2 separate regions of the Homo sapiens genome follow, and region 1 is linked to region 2. The links are contacts of gene promoters, found by promoter capture Hi-C in blood cells and fetal thymus (Javierre and others, 2016). All regions are on one chromosome and are shown on one strand. Each heading gives the region's core, a stretch centred on a gene start or on the middle of the fragment in contact. The rest is flanking DNA. Distances are from core to core; before and after follow the strand shown.

Region 1 (4,257 bases), core at 1,684-4,183, 130 kb before region 2:
CCAACCAGGAGGTGGTACCCGTAAAAGAACATCAGCTGCAGTAATGGCAGTGGAATTTGTGTTTGCCATATGTTACCCAGGGAAGGTGGTCTGGCATCTCAAGCAATTGGTGGGTGTCCCAAAGCTCCCATGGAATTCCTAAACATCTTTATACATAGTGTTACGCTACCAAGGTGGATCTAGGGGCAAAGCCAGGCGGGGGGCTGAGCCAGGTAAGTCTGTACTCTGGCTCCCCACATGTGGGTGCAGGCAGTGGCCCCAGAGGGCAGTTCCCTGGCTGCTGGGGTAATGTTCCAAGGAAGAGTGTAGCTTCCTCTGCTGCACAAAAGACTCCAAACAGGCAGGGGGGTGTAGTAAGTGGAAATAAGCCCCACTTAGCTCTCACACACTTGGCAGGTCAGGTCTCACATACACAGTGTTTTGCTGGCAGCAGCTAGCTGAGTTCCAGGCAGCCTTCACTCAGAAGACTTATGCCCCAAACCATAAGCCTTCCCAAGGGAGACAGAAATCATGGCTTTCAGGCCACACCCCTCCTGGTTTGCTCATAACACAGGGGCATCCAGCTTCTGTGCCCATGTCTGTAGCACACTTCTCACTTGCTTGCTGGTTCTGGCCACTGTGGTTCACCCCTACTCAGATTATACTGCAAATCTCAGTTGAGAGCTTCTCTCAACCTGTGACCACTGCCTGATGCCAGTAGACTTCTGCAAGGTCCCTTGTGAGGTAGGATCAGGAATGGCTTCCCTCCATCTCCAGTGGCATCTGGGAGTGCATGCAAAGTATGTCCCCATGTTGTTCCTTCTCATATTTTGCCCACTGCTCCCTAAATCAGCCCCAGCATTGAGTAGGGATAAGGCCTTCCCCCATGGCCTGGATTGCCCAGCTCCCCTCTGGGAATGTGTGTTATGGCAACAGTCTCCCCACTGTGGGAATGTGTGTCATGACAGCGGTCTCCCCACTTCTTATGCTCTGGAGACTCAGTTTTCTGTCTGGTTCACAGTGTAGGCTGCTGCACACTACTTCTTTCACAGAGTTTGCGGCTTCTTTCAGTTTTCCTGTTAAGTTCCTGTGCTGCTTCTTGGAAAAAAGTCCACAGCATGAATCTCTACACACCATTTTGTCTTTCTAAGTGGTAGAATCACGTTAACAATGCCTTCAACCTGCCATCATGGAAAAAAAGTAAAAGTGTGGTCACCATGTTCTAAGGGCCCGCCATGATCACGTACTTGAGGTCTGACTCCTAGTATAACCTACAGTGGGAAAACAGTTGGTGCTGTTCTACAGCATTGTCTCTGCCTTCATAAAACCCATCATCTCCAGCCTCAGGAACAAGGATGTAAAAGGGGCTTCTTGGAAAGTACTTAGAGTCAAAGGGACAGCTCAAGGACCTAGTATGCTTCAGAGTTTTCCATAATCATGGGCAACCTGGAGGGGTCTTATTTGGTACCTTAAAAGTACATCAGTTATCTTTTTGTTAAGCTTTCTATTCTTTGCTCATGCTCAGCTCCCTCTTGAACTTCAGTTTTTTAGATTTGCTCCTCTGAGGTAATTTTCTATGTCTTGTAGGCTTCCTTCATTTAGTTTCATTCTTTTTTCTTCTCTGACTGTGTATTTTCCAACACCCTGTCATTGAGCTCACTGGTTCTTTCCTCTGCCTGATCCATTCCGCTGTTGAGAGCCTCTAAAGAATTTTACAGTTTAGCAAATATACTTCTAATTTCCAGGGTTCCTATTTGATTTGTTTCTCACTATTTCAATTTCTTTGTTAAAATTTTCTGATACATTTCTAAATTGCTTTTTTGTATTATTTTGAATATCTTTGAGTTTTATTAAAACTTCTCTTTATTCTTAATCAGGGAACTTCCCTATTGCTGTCTTATTAGTGTTGGTTACTGGTTCCTTGCTTTGTCAATTTGGGGAGCTCATGATTTTCTGTTTGTGTATGTACATTTGTCTTTAAATTGAAAAATTATTTATTCCAGTCTCCTTTATCTGATATATTTTTGTTTTTATTGGATATGTTTGCTTAGCGTTTTCTTTACAACTTACCTTTTTTTTTTTTTTGTAGGTCACTGCCTCCTTTTCAGCACTAAGTGGCAACTAAGTCCAGGTTTACCTCTGTTTTAGCAGGTGTTCAGAGTGCTGCCTGTCCAGGATGGGGGAGGTCCCAAAGGGGATAATGCAGCAGAATGGGAAAGCTGTCTAGGATTTTGTGCCCAAGAGACTAACAGAACATACCTCCTACAGTGAGGTTCTACTGAACACTCTAATTTGGCAACTCCTTCAGCCAAGATACAGAGAGTTTCCCAGGCTGGGGATGCTGCTAGCCCCACCTGCCCCCTTTGTCTCTGTCATTCTTCAGGAATTTTTCTCCATTCAAGTACTTGTGCACCTTTCTGTGTGTTGAGGCAGGAACAGGTCTCCTGCCAGGAAACCCAAGATGTTGAGAAAGCTGGCTGTCCATCTTGAACTTACCTTTTCCAATGTAGTAACTGTGAATCAGGGGAAATTTCCCAAATGCCTGGTTCATGACAAATCGGGGGGAAAGCGTTATACTTATAAAAATCCGATTCTATCACCCTCTGCACAGCGTTTTTACTTCTCTGCAACCCCAGAAACTATCTCATCCTTCTATTTGGGTTCTGGGATATTGCTAGTGATAATTTCTGCACTGTATGTGTATATTTTGTTGTTTGTTTTTTATTTTCTATGAGATCGAGGGTAGTGGAGCCAGGTTGCTTCTACTCTATCATTTTGGTGACCTAAGTCATATTTTTTCTGTACAATATTAAATAAAAGTAATATTGGTAATTAATCTTGTTTTGTTCTTAACTGGGATTATTGAATTTAGCTTAGGAATATTTGGAGGAAGACTTTTGCATATATGTTAATGAATGATATTATCATCTATTTTTTCACATTACTAGTTTTATTTATTTTGGAATCACTGTTAGGCTATCTTTGTAAAATGCACTGTTGAGCTGCATTGCCAGTGTTTTAATTCTCAGAAGAATGTAAAAATAGGAACTATGTTTTTCGTCAATATTAGATAGAACTCACTTATTAAGCAAGCTGCCACTGATGTTTTCTTTCTAGTGATTTTTTAACTTCTAATTTAATATCATTTAGATTTTATATTAATTCTGATGTTGATATTTCTAATTTATAATTTTTTAGAAATGAATCCAGCCAATTTAAAATTTTAATTAACTGGCATATATTATTAGTAATATGTTATTATAACTTTAAACTTTGATGCATCTGTAATTCTGCCAATTGTTCATTCTTAATCTTTCTTATTTTTGCCCCTCTCTCTCCTTTATTTTTTATTAGTCTTGTCAGGAGTTTATTTTTATTTTTAGGAACCAACATTTTTATTAGTATATCATTTTTGTCATATATTTATTTTTATTGTATTAATTTCTGCTCCCAGATTTTTTCTTACACTTTCTTTTTTTGCCCTAACATTATTTTTCTAATTTTTAAACTTGAATGCTTAGTTAATTAATTTTATACTTTTTAAATAATATTAAATTTAAGGCTATAAACTTCTAAAAAGCACTTTTTCCCAAATATTTTGAAATTATACTTTTTGTTATTGTTCAGATATAGATGTTTTCTACTTTTCCTATGATACTTCTGAGAGTAAGTTGTATGGAAGTATTTTCTTTAAATATCAAACATATGGACATGTGAAATTTATCATTTATTTATTTCTAATTTATTTATATCACTAGTAGAAGCAGAGGTCTATATTATATTAATATTATTAATTCTATTAACTGTATTGACACTTGTTTTATGGCCAAGCATTTGTTTAATTCCACTGTGCTTGAAATCAATCTTTATTCCATGTGCCTCCAGTAGGTGGACCTTGTTAATTATTCTACAAATAATTTATATATATACTTATGATTTATTTGCCTGGTGTTTTTATTCCTAAGGGGAGAGATTTCAAATGTCTTACTCTGATAGTGGGCGTGTTAATTTTCCTTACAGTGCTTTTACGTGATTACTGTGCAGCATGGAAAGCCACAGACCTCCTTCCACTGCATGGCAGAAAGCAGAGCAGAACACACAAACCGGGCAGGCTGGCTCCCTGGGAGAAGAGCACAGGAAAGAACTGTGCTACATATGCCCAGTTCCCCCTTCCAGTCCCACCAATTGGAGTAGACGGCTGGTTCTCAGACTTTAACTTGCATGCATAACATCCTGAAGTTATTAAAACACCAATTACTAGACCCCACTTTCAAAGTA
Region 2 (2,500 bases), core at 1-2,500:
TTTACTGGAGAAAGCACTTGCTTTTCAGCCCGGAGAAGGCGCCACCAGGAACCTGAGGAATCTGGGAACAGATTTTACTACCTTCCCACGTTTTCCCACCTTTTAAATGACTGGAACTGCTTTCTCCTTTGCTTTTCACTATATAGAACGTATGGCTCTTTATTGAAATACTATTTAAACAAGGTTTCTAAGCCACAGCCTGGAGAGAGAAATACTTTTGAACTGAGGCCTATCCCTTGTGATGAGTAGAGCACACATTAATAAACTGCTTGTTTTTCTTTTGTTAATTTGACGTTTGTTTTCAGGAGAGTGTCAACTAATAACCTAAAAAGGGAAATTTAAAAAAAACTTGTTTTCTCCCCTACAGCTGTATTTCGGGCCCCATTTTCCACTCATGGCCACATCCTGCTTGCAGATCTGCTGCTGGGTTAACACAACATCATCTGCCAGTTGGTGTCGTTTATTTGACATCTTGGGGTTTTAGTACTCTGAAGGACACCCACTGCCCTTAACAGAAAAAATACTGCTGAGCAAAGGGTTTAACAGGACTCTCGGTCTACCAGAAGTTCAGTGCATTTTCCAGGATTTTCAAGGCTTCGATGCTGTCATGTTGTGAGCCCACTATCCACTTGTGTTTTTCCATGAATAATGAAGGAAACCTGAGGAATCATGAATGTAATCATTGAGGTAAAATAACCTAGTCATAGTCAAGAGGACAGCTAGTGTTAAACTCCTTTATATATATTTGAGAAAGGATTTATATATTCATAATAACTTTCTGATCTGGAAAGCCCTAGGTTTGTCAACTATTAATAACTGGGTGAATGCTTCAGGTAGTATTTAAACCAACTGCTATTTCATAGCAGACATTCTCCCATGCAGGAGATGCAGTAAAGTACTGGTAGCAATAGATGCTCCTACCAAGATCTCCCCCTGCAACCGCACAGGAAAGGAGGGAGAAGAAACCACCTTGCTTCTCTCATATTTGACAATCATTCATCGGAATAGAGGTCCCTAATGTCCCACATGTAAGTCTGCTGGTTAAGAAAGTTCTAAGATTGGAACTCCATTCAGATATCAACATTTGTAAGAAAAAAAATTTTAAATATAACTTTGATACAAATTTTACTTTGATTAAGATACCTACAGGAAAGAAACTGTTCATTTTCTCTAACAGGATGGAAAGCAAAAAATATGGGTGGGAGGAGTCTGCACGTTGTTTCACAACTTCTCTCTCCCCAGGGCAAAGCAGAGTATGAGGAAGCCAGCACTAGTCAAGTGACTCTAAGAAGGGCCATTTTCCCTTGTTGTCTTTGAAAATACTTCATTTTCTTAGCATTTCAGGAGATTATAACATCCTGTATTTCAGTTTCTGAGAGCTTTACTGACTGATTTCCCTATTCAAAACAATCCTCATTTCCTACATTTCTGAAGATCTCAAGATCTGGACTACTGTTGAAGAAATTCCCAGTAAGGTGAGTACTGTGGGTATTTTTTATAGAAAAGATCTAGATGCTTCCTTGAAAGCCACAAAATCACAAGGGAAAAATCGATATTGGTTCTTCAGGGCAGTGGGGTGAGGGCAGTAGGGCTGGTATCAACTATATTCAGAAAAGTGAAAACTGCAGTTAATACTTCCAATTCTTTACTTACTTCAAAGATAGTAGATATCCTTTATTCTACAACTGGGGCATGAATGAAGGAATATGCATTTTGACCATTGCAGATTTTAAAACAAATTCTCTGAGTATATATTCTCTGAGGTTAGAAAGCTTGGTGGCCATTGGGGTCTGGGCAAAAGACAAGATAATGATTTCATTCTTTTTTATGGATGCATAGTATTCCACGCTGTATATGCATAACATGGATACGGCTAGAGAACATTACCCTAAGTGAACTAACACAGGAATACCAAATACTGCATGTTCTCACTTATAAGTGGAAGTTAAACATTGAATCCATATGGGCACAAGATGGGAACGGTAGACGCTGGGGACTGCTTGAGAGGAAAGGTGGGAGCAGTATGTGGGTTGGAAGGCTATCTATCTGGTACTATGTCGCTACCTTGGTGATGGGATCACCAGACAACAAGCCTCAGCGACACACAGTTTACTCATTTAACAAGCCTGCACATGTACCCTCTGAACCTAAAATGAAAGTAGAAGATAAAATAAGACAAGATAATGATGTGCACAAAGTATCAGGAAATAATATTAAGTAAAAAACACATCTAGACATACAGCTGTATTTTACGGTATCTCAATTTTACAAAACATGTTCTCACACAAAAACATATGTGAGAACATTTTGTAAATAATATTATTCTACAAGTGCAAACACATAGTAGAAAATGTATCCATTTTGCAAACACAATTATTCAAATAATTCAAATAATTCAAATGTGTCAATATTTTCATAAGTATGTTTAACTTTTACATTAGCATCATTCTATACCAGATGTGAAAGGCAGTTTTTTATTCATTTTAAGATTACTTCCTGC

The links. Contacts are between HindIII fragments. The CHiCAGO score rates a contact against its expected background, and 5 or more counts as called.
Region 1: a contact is called between a fragment that was not itself captured here and the fragment with the promoter of PYHIN1 in region 2, in 2 of 17 cell types (non-activated CD4 T cells and total CD8 T cells). The highest score is 5.9, in non-activated CD4 T cells.

What each region holds. Positions count from the first base shown.
Region 1 is chr1:158,794,830-158,799,086 of GRCh38, forward strand. It overlaps a transcript of OR6N1 not described here and the pseudogene OR2AQ1P. Among named protein-coding and RNA genes, the nearest start is that of OR6N2, 16 kb to the left of the region's middle. The HindIII fragment of the contact is 2,912 bases long and covers 1,478-4,257 here.
Region 2 is chr1:158,930,302-158,932,801 of GRCh38, forward strand. PYHIN1 (pyrin and HIN domain family member 1) reads left to right here and starts at 1,251. Exons shown (of 9, transcript NM_152501.5): 1 at 1,251-1,475. The HindIII fragment of the contact is 3,309 bases long and covers 1-1,770 here.